Regions from separate parts of the Homo sapiens genome. Here region 1 is linked to region 2. The links are contacts of gene promoters, found by promoter capture Hi-C in blood cells and fetal thymus (Javierre and others, 2016). All regions are on one chromosome and are shown on one strand. The core of a region is centred on a gene start or on the middle of the fragment in contact, and the rest is flanking DNA. Distances in the headings are between cores, read along the strand shown.

The links. The method cuts DNA at HindIII sites, captures the fragments that hold promoters and counts their contacts. A CHiCAGO score of 5 or more calls a contact.
Region 1: the fragment with the promoter of PILRB here is called in contact with the fragment with the promoter of GAL3ST4 in region 2 in 3 of 17 cell types (total B cells, total CD8 T cells and naive B cells); the score reaches 6.9 in total B cells.

The regions. Positions count from the first base shown.
Region 1 is chr7:100,353,367-100,360,633 of GRCh38, reverse strand. It overlaps PILRB (paired immunoglobin like type 2 receptor beta), which reads right to left and starts at 2,517. Exons shown (of 4, transcript NM_178238.4): 1 at 2,268-2,517; 2 at 1,555-1,944; 3 at 1,097-1,297. The coding sequence starts at 2,331. STAG3L5P-PVRIG2P-PILRB (STAG3L5P-PVRIG2P-PILRB readthrough) reads right to left here. Exons shown (of 17, transcript NR_036570.1): 11 at 7,151-7,261; 12 at 5,394-5,491; 13 at 3,751-3,884; 14 at 2,268-2,414; 15 at 1,555-1,735; 16 at 1,097-1,297. MIR6840 (microRNA 6840) reads right to left here and starts at 3,983; the gene lies at 3,913-3,983. It also overlaps the pseudogene PVRIG2P. The HindIII fragment of the contact is 11,655 bases long and covers 1,068-7,267 here.
Region 2 is chr7:100,165,156-100,171,492 of GRCh38, reverse strand. It overlaps GAL3ST4 (galactose-3-O-sulfotransferase 4), which reads left to right and starts at 2,876. Exons shown (of 4, transcript NM_024637.5): 1 at 2,876-2,947; 2 at 4,210-4,522; 3 at 4,688-4,991. The coding sequence starts at 4,398. GPC2 (glypican 2) reads left to right here. Exons shown (of 10, transcript NM_152742.3): 9 at 57-232; 10 at 1,010-1,887. The coding sequence ends at 1,263. RefSeq lists a silencer at 1-30. The HindIII fragment of the contact is 24,826 bases long and covers 1-6,337 here.

The DNA.
Region 1 (7,267 bases), core at 1,268-3,767, 190 kb before region 2:
GGTCACCCTTTGCTGCCTCACGCTGCCTCTGGGATCAGAGGCTCTTGGATGTGATTTCTAAGGTCATCTCCTCTTCTCTCCTCTCCTGCCTCCTTCACCAGCACCAAGCTTCCTACAGCTCCTGGAATGGTTTCCTCCACCCACAAGGAAAGTGAGTGACCTCTACACAATCCTCACCTCTTGCCAGGCTAATTCTTTTCTTTTTTGAGACATCTGCAGATGCCACCTCCTGTGGGAAGTCCTCCCTGATTACCTCTCTCTCCTCCCACCCTTGTTTAGCAATACCATAGTTCTTTCTCAATGAAGCAATTAGTCCTTGAGGCAACTGACAACTCCACACCCCCAGTTCCCTGAGAGCAGAGCCTATGCTTTATATACTTTGCTTCTCCAGTTTCAAGCCAGGCCGTGGCAGGAGGGCAGTCAGCCAGTGCCTGCTGAGCTCAGCCCAATTCTGGTCCCTTCTCCTCTCTCTGTTCTTTTCCCAGGGCAGGCCCTCCCCTCCCCAGGAACCTTCAGGGGAGCGTGGATGATTGATGACTGAGAGAGAAGTTGGGGGGATCCAGCTGTGTGGAGAGGGCTGGGGGCTTTTTTTGTTTGTTTGTTTGTTTGTTTGAGACAGAGTCTTGTTCTGTCACCAGGCTGGAGTGCAGTGGCACGACCTTGACTCACTGCAACCTCTGCCTCCCGGGTTCAAGCGATTCTCCTGCCTCAGCCTCCTGAGTAGCTGGGACTATAAGCGTGTGCCACCATGCCCAGCTAATTTTTGTATTTTTAGTAGACATGGGGTGTCACCATGTTGGCCAGGATGGTCTTGATCTCTTGGCCTTGTGATCCACCTGCCTTGGGCTCCCAAAGTGCTGGGATTACAGGCATGAGCCACCGCGCCCAGGCTGGGGGTTCTCACATGTGACCCTGCACCACCCCACTGCAGGAGGCCCCCGAGATGCAGACGCCCCAGCACAGGCCAGAGTCGGCCTTGGTGGGCTTGAGGGGAGCCAGCAGGGTCTGCATATTTCTGAAGTCCCTTAGCTGCAGGTGGGCTCAGAGAAACCCCCAGCTGGGAAGCTTGAGGAGACAGTGCGTTCTGGGCACTTACCTTTCCTTCTCCTCCACCACAGGAGGAGGAGGCACAGCAGTCCCAAAATGACAGTTTTGAGCACAGCGACAGCCAATGCAACCCTGATGGCAGTGTCCAGACTTAGGTGCCATGATTCTGAGTGCCCTTTGCTTTCTGTGACCCTGAGGCCGGCTATGGTGGTTGTGCTGCTGGGCCTCCAGGTGGTGGTGGTTGTGACAGCTGGAAGAGATGAGGAATGAGCAGACCCTCTTCTGGGGGTGTGGGGCGTCTGGATGAAAGGCATGGTGTGCTGCTTTCTAGATTGGGGACATTCAGGATGAGCAAGCTGCTCTCAGAAGCCCAGACATGGAAGGGGTAGCAAGGTGAAATGCTAACAGCTCTCAATCCAGACCACTGGGTTTAAATGTGAAGACATCAGTGGTCACCAAAACCCTCACTGCGGTGGGCAAGGCAGGTGTCAGGGCAGCTGGACTCACCCTGGGTGATGGTGAGTTTGGTCCCCTTGATGGACTGCAACTGCTGCCTCCCTGATCTCCGGGTGTCCAGCTCGACTCGGCAGAAATACACAGACTGGTCCTCCTTCCGCAGGTTTGAGATCCTGAGGAAGCCGCTCTCCTGACCCTCTGTCCAGTTCAGAAAGAGCCGGTTCACATAATCCTTGTGAATGGAAGGCGGCCTTGTGCTGTAGAAGGACTGCCCGTGGAAGTGGCCCCGTCTCCAGGATATTCTCACGTTGGGAACTATGGCTAACTCCCAGGGGTAATAGAAGGAGAAGGGGATTTCCACAGAGCCACCCATGGAGGCTGAGAGGTGTTTTGGTTGAGTGACCCCATAAAGGTAGCTTGGACCAGATCCTGTGGAGCCACCTAGAGGAAGGAGGGAGTGAGTGGGGGAGAGACCTTGAAACCACCTCAGGACACAAAGAGGGTGACCCCAGACCCTCCCACACCTTCACCCACAGGCAGTCGTGTGACAGGTGGCTGGACTGACCTCTGGCCTGGGTCTCCCACTCTTCAGGCATGGGGGAGGGTGGAGGGGGAAGAGATGGCGGCACCCACCCCTATGGGACCCGCCCTTGTTTGCTGGAGGTGGGAGCCTGGCCCCTGCCCCAGATGTTCTGCCTTTGTCTTGGGTTGGCCCCTCCTGTGGTTTGGGCAGAGACCATACCTGGGCGGTCCTGGGTACTCACCAGGCTGCAGAAATGCTGGCGGCTGCAGCAGGAGCAGCAGGGGCAGCAGCAGGGGCCGACCCATGGCCTTGTTCTTCTCCAGGGGACGGGGAGACCAGCAGAGCTGTCCAGGCAGGAGAGGGGCCCTGTGGAGGGGCTGCCTGAGGGCTGAGGTGAGTGGGGAGAGCCAGGGTGAGGCTCCCCAGAGGGCTGTGGGGGCCGGGGACCTTCCCCAAACCAGTACACCTCCAGGGTGACCAGCACTTCCTTTATCCATCTGGCTTCTTATTGCAAAAGGGCCTTAGGTGCCTTTTTATCCCTTGCCTAATTGCTCCGGCCAGGACTTCAAATCCTTTTTTTTTTTTTTTTTTTAGTAGAGATGGGGTTTTGCCATGTTGGCCAGGGTGGTCTCACACTCATAGGCTCAAGTAATCTGCCCGCCTCAGCCTCCAAAAGTGCTGGGATTACAGGCGTGAGCCACTGTGCCCGGCCTGACTTCAAATCCTGTGTTGAATAGAAGTAGTGAGAGCGGGCATCCTTCTCTTGTTCCTGATCTTGGAGGCAAAGATTTCAGTCTTTCATCTAAAATGACTGAAAGACTTTCAGCCATGGGCCTTGCATGACTGGCCTTTATTTTGTTGCAGTACATTCCTTCTCTTCCTGGTTTGTGGAGTGTTTTACCAGGAAAGGGTGTTCAGGCTGGGCACAGTGGCTCAAGTCACACAAAAGTGTCAAGTCAGCCCTGCCCAAGGGCCCCAGTGCCCATCTTCCTGCTGAGGGGCTGGGCCTCACCTTGGCTGGCTGGGCCCCTCCCACCTGGATCCCTGCAGACCCCACCGCACTCAGCCTCACTTCTCATCCCTTTCTCTGTCCAAGGCCAGCGCAGGCTCTTTCAGGGAGAGGAAAGGCGGGCCTGAGTCTGTGCTCTGCTGCACCCCAGATTCAGTCCTCAGAGAGGAGAAGGAGGAAGCCAGTGGAGGTCACAGGCGCTCAGCCCCCAGCCCAAGCACCAGAGCCCCCAGCTTGTCCTCTGTCCCTCTCCCTCCCTGGCAGGGGCTCCCATGCAGTCCCCAGGCACCACCACAGCCCAGCTGGCCTCTTCCCACCCCAGGCCTGCTCCCTTGGTGCAGGGACCACAGTCTTGCTCAAGGGGTGAGGGGGCTGACGGTCCCCTACACAGAGACTGGTCCCTCTCGAGGCCACCCCTTGACCCCCAGACATGAGACTGGATCTGCAGGGTCCCCTCTGACCTCCCTGCCCTACACAGGAGGGGACAGAGCTTGGAGAAGCCCTGTCCCAGGCCACATGACTTGCAGGGCAGTCCCAGGACTGGAGCCCCCTCTACCTGGATCTCTGGGCCTCAACTTCTGAGTTGCAGGAACTCAGGCATAGGGGAGCCCCAGGAGGTTGTTCCCTCATACAGCCCCTCAGGTCATTCCCTCCACACACCTGAGCCTATGGCTGAACCAGGAAGGTTCCTTGGTGCCAGGGCAGCTGGACTCACCCTGGGTGATGGTGAGGTGGGTCCCCTTGATGGACTGCCACGACAGCCTCCCTGATCTGTATGTCCAGCTGGACTTGGCAGAAGTACACAGACTGGTCCTCCTTCCGCAGGTTCGAGATCCTGAGGAAGCCTCCCTGAGGAAGTGAAGGCTCAGAGCAACAGTGGGCACCCCGCACAAAGTCCTGGGCCCGTCTCTAACAGGGGATCTGCAGGTCTTTGCCCGGGGGTGGTCACTGGAGCTTTGGTGACCCACAGGGCTCCCTCCATAGGAGGCTCTGCCCATCCTCTCCAGAGTAAGGTGGCATCAGCTGAGGGGCCGTGGGGACAGGAAGGCAGGATTTCACCAGAGGAAGTGATAACAATCTTCTTGAGACAGAAGCAGGCAGGGACAGGCCTCCCTTCTCTTGTCAGTCTCTTCCCTGGTCCCAGTAGGCTCCTCTGTGCTTCCCAGGGCCAGTCAGGCCGATCCACCCTCCTTCCCTTCACAGGTCTGAGGAAACAGGCTCCCCATGCTCAGGAAACCCCTCCGTCTGAGCCAGGCCCTATACACCTCATTCTCCTTGTTCAACCCACAGGGAAACTGAGGCACCGGGGCTTTGGACTGAACTGGTCCCACCTGCAAAGGTGGGCCGAAAAGAGGACAAGGGACCCCCTGGCTGTTTGGGCAAGGCCTCAAGAGGGTGGCCCACCCTGCCTGAGGACTTTTTGTTTTTTTTTTTTGAGATGGATTCTCGCTGTGTTGCCCAGGCTGGAGTGCAATGGTGTGATCTTGGCTCACGGTAACCTCTGCTTCCTGGGTTCAAGTAATTCTCCTGCCTCAGCCTTCCAAGTAGCTGGGAATTACAGGTGTGTGCCACCACACCCAGCTAATTTTTATATTTTTAGTAGAGACAGGGTTTCACCATGTTGGCCAGGCTGGTCTCAAACTCCTGGCCTCAAGTGATCTGCCCACCTCAGCCTCCCAAAGTGCTGGGATTATAGGCATGGGATACAACACCCAGCCACTGAGGACTGACTCTTCGTTCCATTCCTGCCTTGCCCGTGGCCCATGGGACCCAGCTAGAAGGTCACCTGCTTACCAGGCTGCCCAAGGAGGGGGCCACATAGAACTTTTAGCCAACAGCCTCTGGGTAGCTCTGGAGGGTACATACTCCCCAGGGGCCTCAGGCCCGGTACCGCCACGTGCATTCTCCTTAGATGCAAGGTGCGTGTTTATGTCACTTTCCGGGCTCTGGACCCAGCTGAACCCCCATGGGAGATTCCTTTTGTGTCAGGATTTCTGCTCTGGAATGGTGTGAGGCCTCCCGGATGGTTCATCCTCCCTCCCCCAACAGCAGTGACAGGGCCTGGGGCTAAGCCTGGGGCTGTGGCTCTCTCTCAGAGGGGGGTTTTGGGAGGCACCGGCCCTGGAGGAGGGCATGATTCCAACATGGGCAGAGTCTAAATCCAGCCCGTTAGCCCAGCAGGTGGCCATGGGAGAGGCATGGGATGCAGTGTTCAGCAGAGGCAGGGAGGGGGCCAGGACCCTGCCCATTTTGAGAACTGCTGCTTGTATGTCCCCACCTTCCCCCAACAACTATCCTCCTTTCCTCACCAGCCACGTCTATGCCTGCCCCAGCCCCTTGCCCCTCCTTGGCACCCACCTTGTTCTTGCTTTCCCCTTGAGATCAGGAATGAGGCACAGATGTCTGCTCTCACTGCCTCCCTTCACGGTACTGGAGTCCTAGCCAGCGCGCTATGCCTGAAGGGAAATACAAGTGCTCTGTGTCTTCTTCAATTCTGTATTGATCTATTTGGCCTCCACCCATCACAGGGCCCATATTATCTATATTTCCTGCATTCTTGGCCTCTTTTTAGTGGGGGACATGGTCTCGCTCTGCCTGTAGGTGGGACTATAGGCACGCACCACAGTTCTCCCCTAATTTTCTTTTTTGCAGAGACGTGGTGTCACTGTTACCCAGGCTGGCCTCAATCTCCCAGGCTCAAGGCATCCTCTCAGTGTGCTGGGATTACACATATGAGCCACAGGGCTGAGCCCCTTGTACATTGCCAATGCTCTGGCATCTGGTGCCTCACTGACTAGGGAGAGACTCCCCCTCCCAGGGGTAGCTGACTGTAAAATTTTTACATCAACTTATTAAATCAGCTGGTCAATTTTGACCCAGAGCCATGCTGAAATTTTGATTAAGAAGCTCCTATTCAGGCGGGGCACCGTGGCTCAAGTCTGTAATCTCAGCACTTTGGGAGGCCAAGGTGGGTGGATCACCTGAGGTCAGGAGTTCGAGACCAGCCCAGCCAAACATGGTGAAACCCGTCTCTACTGAAAAAAAAAAAAAAAATACAAAAATTAGCGGACACGATGGTGCACATCCGTAGTCCCAGCTACTCGGGAGGCTGACGCAGGAGAATCACTAGAACCCGGGAGGTGGAGGTTGAAGTAAGCCAAGATCGTGCCAATGCACTCCAGCCTGGGTGACAGAGCAAGGCTCTGAAATCCAGCCAGATTTCAGGCAAGTCCTCCTACTTTCCAGCCCTGCCTGATGCCAGCTGTGGAAGGAGGGCATCAGGACTCTAGCCCAGGCCACAGCAGGGAGCCCGGCAGAGGGACGCCAGGTCAAATCACAGGGACTTTTCTCAGGCTGAAGCCCCAGGAACCCTTGCTGCTGTCCTAGGACATGGTGGGATTGCAGCAGGGACCATCCCGCTGGGATCCCCCAATTCTGTCTAGGAAGCCACAGGTGTCCCTCAGGAAGCTCCCCCAACCCCCCGCCACCCCAAGAAGCCAGGACAGATCTCTAAGACTGGGACACTGCCCTCTCCCTGGGCCAAACCCAGCCCTGCAAGGAGGCCCCAACCCACTCTGGTTCTCACCTGGCTTCTGCCTCCCAGGGGTGGAGACTTCCTCCCCAATCTCTTCACCCCCAAAGAAGCACAGCCAAGGCCCATGTCAGAGGAACTGTGTTGCTGACTTAGTCACAGCAGGAAACGACTGGAATGGGGTACTGTTGCTCACACACTCACACCTGTGCCCACACACACCCACACATGCACACACACAGACCACATCTGCAGCAGGTGGGCCTGGCCAGGCACCTGTGGGACACTTATTAGAGGCCCAAGAATAACGTAAGGGGGTGGCACCCAGGAGGCCTGGGAAGGGGAAAGCCCAGTGGCCTCATGGTCTCTCTCATTGAACTCCTAAGGGTCCCTCCATGGCCCTGGGCCCCAAGGGTCAGGGAAAAGAGTGAGGCCAGGACCAGTGCAGGGAGGCCTCTGCCCAGCCTAAGCGTAGAGTCCATTCTCAACAGAGACAAAGCTGCCATGTGCAGGGATGGATGTGGAGGCCCAGGCAGCAGGGCCCTGGGGCCAGTGTGCGGTGTGGGTGGGGAGTGATGCCCACCAGGACGGCCCCCTGTCGGGGGTGAGCTGTGTCCAAAGTAGCTGGGCAGCAGCTGGTGTTGATAGTGGCATAAGGGACGTGGAGAGCAGCCTGGGAGGCCTGGCTGGGTGCCTGCGC
Region 2 (6,337 bases), core at 1,627-4,126:
CGGGAGGGGCGGGGCCGCGCGCGCTAGCTGGCGCTTCGGGGCTGCTCTGCTCGCAGGTACTTGCCGCCAGTGGTCGGGGGCTCCCCGGCCGAGCAGGTCAACAACCCCGAGCTCAAGGTGGACGCCTCGGGCCCCGATGTCCCGACACGGCGGCGTCGGCTACAGCTCCGGGCGGCCACGGCCAGAATGAAAACGGCCGCACTGGGACACGACCTGGACGGGCAGGACGCGGGTGAGACCCCTGCATCCCTGAGCCTGAGCCCCGCCCACTGCCCTGAAGCCTCTCCCCTCTCCTGGTAGTTCCCGCCCGTGCCTCTGCTCTTAGCGTTCATTGATTAATTCACTAATTCATTCAACGAGCATTTATTGAGCGTTGCCCTGAAAGACTGGGGGTAACAGATCAATGAGGGGGTCTGTATCCTTTCAGGCCAGTAGGGGAGACACGAAAACATTCTTAAAGAACAGTGGGAAGCCCCTTATAATGGGCAAAGGGCAGTGGGAAAATGGGGGAGGGGGCAATTTGGGGGAGGCTGGGAAGCCAGGGTGGTGGGTGACATTGAGCTGGCTCCGCAGGGTGGAGTTTGCCAAACAGAGAAGCAAGGCACAGACACTCATTGTTTTCTTCTCTCCTTCTATCTGTCTGTCTCTGTCTCTCTTTGTCACTCTTCCCGCACCCCTCTTCCTGGCTGCTTTCTGCTTCTGTGTACTTCTGATTTTTCTGTTTTTTCCTGTTATCCTCTCTCCCCATCTGCCTGTTTTGTTTTTTTTTCTCTCTGTCTCACTGTCTCCCATCATGATCTCTCCCCCCATGTCTGCTGTCGGATCTCTCTCCTTCCTTCTCTCCCTGCCTTCCTGTCACTCATGGTCTTTCTCCCTTCCCCAACCCGGCATCCACCTGTGTCTCCCTCCCTTTCCTCTCTCTTTCTGTTTTTATCTCAATTTCTTTTCCTCCCTCTGTCTCCCTCTGCTTCTCCCTCCCATCCTGCTCTGTCCCTCTTCTTCCTTGCAGATGAGGATGCCAGCGGCTCTGGAGGGGGACAGCAGTATGCAGATGACTGGATGGCTGGGGCTGTGGCTCCCCCAGCCCGGCCTCCTCGGCCTCCATACCCTCCTAGAAGGGATGGTTCTGGGGGCAAAGGAGGAGGTGGCAGTGCCCGCTACAACCAGGGCCGGAGCAGGAGTGGGGGGGCATCTATTGGTTTTCACACCCAAACCATCCTCATTCTCTCCCTCTCAGCCCTGGCCCTGCTTGGACCTCGATAACGGGGGAGGGGTGCCCTAGCATCAGAAGGGTTCATGGCCCTTTCCCCTCCTCCCCCCTCAGCTGGGCCTGGGGAGGAGTCGAAGGGGGCTGCAGAGAGGGTAGAGAAGGGACTTTGCAGGTGAATGGCTGGGGCCCCAAATCCAGGAGATTTTCATCAGAGGTGGGTGGGTGTTCACAATATTTATTTTTTCATTTGGTAATGGGAGGGGGGCCTGGGGGTATTTATTTAGGAGGGAGTGTGGTTTCCTTAGAAGGTATAGTCTCTAGCCCTCTAAGGCTGGGGCTGGTGATCAGCCCCAACAGAGAAAATGAGGAGTTTAGAGTTGCAGCTGGGGAAGGGGTTTGAAGGAAGTTGGAAGTGGGGAGGGGTGGGGGCATCTGGTCTCAGAAATGGACCAGCTGGATGCAGGGCAGGGGACTGAGGGTGCTTGAGTAGGATGTGAGACTTCATGGGCCTGGGTTCTGTTGAGTTTTTTCAGTATCAATTTCTTAAACCAAATTTTAAAAAAAACAAGGTGGGGGGGTGCTCATCTCGTGACCTCTGCCACCCACATCCTTCACAAACTCCATGTTTCAGTGTTTGAGTCCATGTTTATTCTGCAAATAAATGGTAATGTATTGGACCCCATGTGTGGCTTCTGTGCTGTCACCATCAGTGCCTGAGCCCTGGCTCCTAGCAGAGGTCTCAGAGCCTCTGTGACTGGCTCATTTTCTGCCGGCTTTTCACTTCCCTTGGCACCTGTCCCCCAGGAGGCGGGCCTAGACAATAACCTCTGATCTCCAAATTGCCCACCCTCTGGGCCTCTGAGCATCTTCGTTTGTACAACAGGGAGAATTGTGGGGACCAAATAGAATCTGTGTGAAAAAGCACCTTGTCACCTGCAAAATGCTCTTTGAACATGAGGCTTTTTTTTTTTTTTTTTTGAGATAGAGTCTCGCTGTTGTCGCGAGGCTGGAGTGCAATGGCGCGATCTCAGTTCACTGCAACCTCCGCCTCCCCAGTTCAAATGATTCTCCTGCCTCAGCCTCCTGAGTAGCTGGGATTACAGGCGCCTGCCACCACAGTCAGCTAATTTTTGTATTTTTAGTAGAGACGGGGTTTCACCATGTTGGCCAGGCTGATCGCAAACTCCTGACCTCAAGCGATCCACCAGCCTTAGCCTCCCAAAGTGCTGGGATTACAGGCGTGAGCCACCGCACCCGGCCACGAAGCATTATTAAGGTGACCACACCACTGCCCCCTGCCTTCAGGATGGGAGGCCTTGTTCTCTGAGTGTCAGTCTCTGGCTACCTTGCCACGTCCTTGACAATGTCTGCTTTCAAATATCACTTTCTCCTTCCTTCCTTCTTTCTTTCCACCGCCTGAATGAATCTTTTGTTCTGCGGCAAGCCAAGAGAAAATGGTAGGATTGATTCCCAAGTGTGAAAGCGGGGGCGGAAGTGGTGTCTTCCAAGAGGAGTCTGGGTGCCCTGCCGAAGAGGGGAAGATGCAGCGAGGGAGAGACCTAGAACCGCGATCAAAGCTGCAGCAGCTGCTGGGGCTGGCGGCACAAAGGGAGGAGGGAGGAGCCTGGGCGCTGAGAAAGTTCTTGGGGAAAGTTGAGCTGAGCCAAGAGTCGGGCGGTGGCTGGGATGGGCGGGAGGGCCCGGCCCGATTTCCCTTGCTGCTCCCCTTGTGGCCTGGTGAGTGGGAAGTGAAACCAAGGATAGGACCAGTGGAGGGACCCTCTAATTTATGGGAGGAGACATGAGGGGTTCATGGAACCCCAGCGGGGGCAACTGGGCAGTCACCAAAGCTGGAGGGGACAGAGGGCTGGGATCTCCAATCATGGGAAGGGAGAGATGGATGGAAGGAAATGAAGAACTCTGGATAGGGGAGACGCGGCTAGACCCCAGGGGCTGTGATCAGGGAGGGAATTGGGGAGTGATGCCAGAGAGGGCAGGTCTCCGGGAGTAAAAGTGTGGCTTCTCTCTGCTTGGGGTTACCCCTGGCTCATCGGAGCAGGGAGCTGTCGGGGCTTGTTGGAGGGGCCGTGGTCCCTGATCGCGAGTTGTAATCTGAAGGGGCGGGGCTGGACTCCCGGTTGATTAGGAAGCTCGGGCTTCAGAAGGAACTCTGCAGTTAGTGTTTGCGCCTTTCTCCTTATCTTTGTGTCATAGTCTCTCTGTCCCTCTGTCTCTCTCTCTCTGTTTCTCTGTGTGTGTGTGTGTGTGTGTGTGTGTCTCTCTCTCTTTCTGTCTCCCTCTCCAGCCCCACCCTTTCAGTCTCCTCCGGGTGCACTGATAAGGTTGGAAAGTGGAATGGTGGGTAAGTCCAGGGATCTGGGCTTTATAAGTAGCCACACGTCTCCCCCAGCCCCTGTCATACATGGGGGTCTGCCCCGTGCTGAGACAGAGAAAAAAGAGGCGCGGGAATTTATAACCCAATGGCTCTTACCCATTGCAATGCCACTCCTGGAAGTCCAACCTCCCTTCCTCCTGCCTGGGTTCATACACCTGTGTCCTGTCTGATCCTCATTCCCACTGTATGGCTTCCCTTCCTGGTCCTGGGATAGGGCTCTTTATCCCCATCTGTGACAGCCAGAGGGGCTCTGGAGGAAACCAGGTTCCCGACCATGGTCTGACCTGACTGTGTTAATGAGCTGATTGATCTGATCTCTCTCTCTCTTGCTGGCTGTTTCATTCACGAGCTGGGGCTTTTTCTCTCCTTCCCTTATAAATCCCCAAGGCTCAGGGACAACTGTAGGTGGGGAGCGGGAGGAACTGGAGATAAGAAAGTGATAGAGCAGAGACAGTAGTTGTGGGGCCACCTAGGAGAGTCTGGGTATAGACAACATCCCCAGCCACTCCCCTTCCCTGAAGGAGGTCTCAGCTGCAGCAGGAGAGAAGGCTGCCTCTGCCTCTCTCCTTAGACTTCCCTTCTTCCCCCCTCATTTCCCTTCTAGACGCTGACAGAGGCAAAAATCTGCTAACTCAGGGGGCAGACTCAACCAAGACTGTGAGCAGGCCTGGGGAATGACCCCCCGATCTCCAACCAGTGCCTTCCGCAGCTGCACGGCTGTCTCCAGCTGTCTCTGCCCCTCTTCCTGGCCCTGGCTCCATCTCTCTGTCACCTCACCCTTCCCTGTGCCACATGGGCCCTCTCTCTCCTGCCAGGACGCTGCGGCTCTGGGGACCTCGGAGCCTGGGGGTGGCTCTGGGAGTCTTCATGACCATTGGCTTTGCACTCCAGCTCTTGGGAGGGCCCTTCCAGAGGAGGTGAGTTCCCACTTTGCCCCAACTCCTTCTAGACGCCCCGTACTTGCTCTTCCCCATCCCACCTGGGGCTGGTGACTCCTGAGGACTCAGAAGCCTCCATGCCCTCTGTCCCTTCTACCCATTTGCTGCTGAGGAACAGGACACTCCCCCTCCATCTCTTCCCAGGCTACCTGGGCTACAGCTCCGACAGCCCTCGGCCCCATCCCTACGACCAGCCCTTCCGTCCTGCCCACCCCGGCAGCGACTGGTGTTCCTGAAGACACATAAATCCGGGAGCAGCTCTGTGCTGAGCCTGCTTCACCGCTATGGGGACCAGCACGGGCTGCGCTTCGCCCTCCCTGCCCGCTACCAGTTTGGCTACCCAAAGCTCTTCCAGGCCTCTAGGGTAAAAGGCTACCGCCCACAGGGTGGAGGCACCCAGCTCCCCTTCCACATCCTCTGTCACCACATGAGGTTCAACCTGAAAGAGGTAAGGAGTGTCGCAGTGGTGGGAGGGACCAGAAACAGATGGGCTCAGGCTGACACCACCAAGGGAGGGGGCCCAGACCTGGGGGCTCCCCAGGCATCATCTCACCCTAAAGTTGGACATAGGGGCCACAAAGTTGGGCTCCCTGCCATCCTCTCTACAGGTGTCCCTTCCCCAGTAGTTTCTGGGAGCCCAAGTCCTCCTCCCTTCTCTCTCTGGCGCTTACTCCAGTCTCTCTCTTTCACCAATGTATTTCCCTGGCATCAGTGCCTTGCCAACTCTGAGCCCCCAACTCTCCCTCCAGGTGCCCCTTACTCTTCTGTTTTTAAATTATTTTTTGGAAGACAGGGTCTTACTCTGTCGCCCAGGCTGGAGTGCAGTGGCACAATCATAGCTCACTGCAGCCTTGACTTCCCAGGCTCAAGTGATCCTCCCACCTCAGCCTCCTGAGTAGCTATGGCTAAGGCATGTGCCACTACACGTGGCTACTTTTTAATTTTTTGTAGAGATGGGGTCTTGCTATGTTGCCCAGGCTGATCTCAAACCCCTGGGCTTAAATAAATAAATAAATAGTCCTGGGCTCAAGTGATCTGCTCACCTTGACCTCCCAAAGGGTTGGGATTACAGGAGTGAGCTTGCCCAGCCTGTGTGTGTGTGTGTGTGTGTGTGTGTGTGTGTGTGTGTGAGACAGGGTCTCATTCTGTCATCCAGGCTGGAATGCAGTGGTACAATTATAGCTCACTGTAACCTCAAACTCCTGGGCTCAAGCGATCCTCTCACCTCAGCCTCCCAACTAGCTGGGACTACAGGTGCATGCCACCACACCTGGCTATTTTTTTATTTTATTTTTTGTAGAGATGGAGTCTCACTATGTTGCCCAGGCTGGCCTCAAATGATCCTCCCACCTCAGCCTGGCAAGTACCTAGGACAACACGCCCCTTCCCTTTCTTAGCCTCCCTTTCACTGTCACACCAGGGCCCCACCTCCCCCACTGCCTTCTGACTTGTCTTCTTCAACCCCCTCACATTTTGAGGATCAGCTGTATTTTTAGCCCGGGACTAAGCCCAGCACTTTGGGAGACCAAGGTGGGCAGATCACCTGAGGTCAGAAGTTCGAGACCAGCCTGGCCAACATGGTGAAACCCTGTCTCTACTAAAAATACAAAAATTAGCCAGGCGTGGTGGCACACGCCTGTAATCCCAGCTACTCGGGAGGCTGAGGCAGGAGAATTGCTTGAACCCAGGAGGCAGAGGTTGCAGTGAGCCGAGATTGTGCCACTGCACTCCAGCCTGGGCAACAGAGCGAGACTCCATTTCACAAAAGAAAAAAAAGGCCGGGCGCAGTGGCTC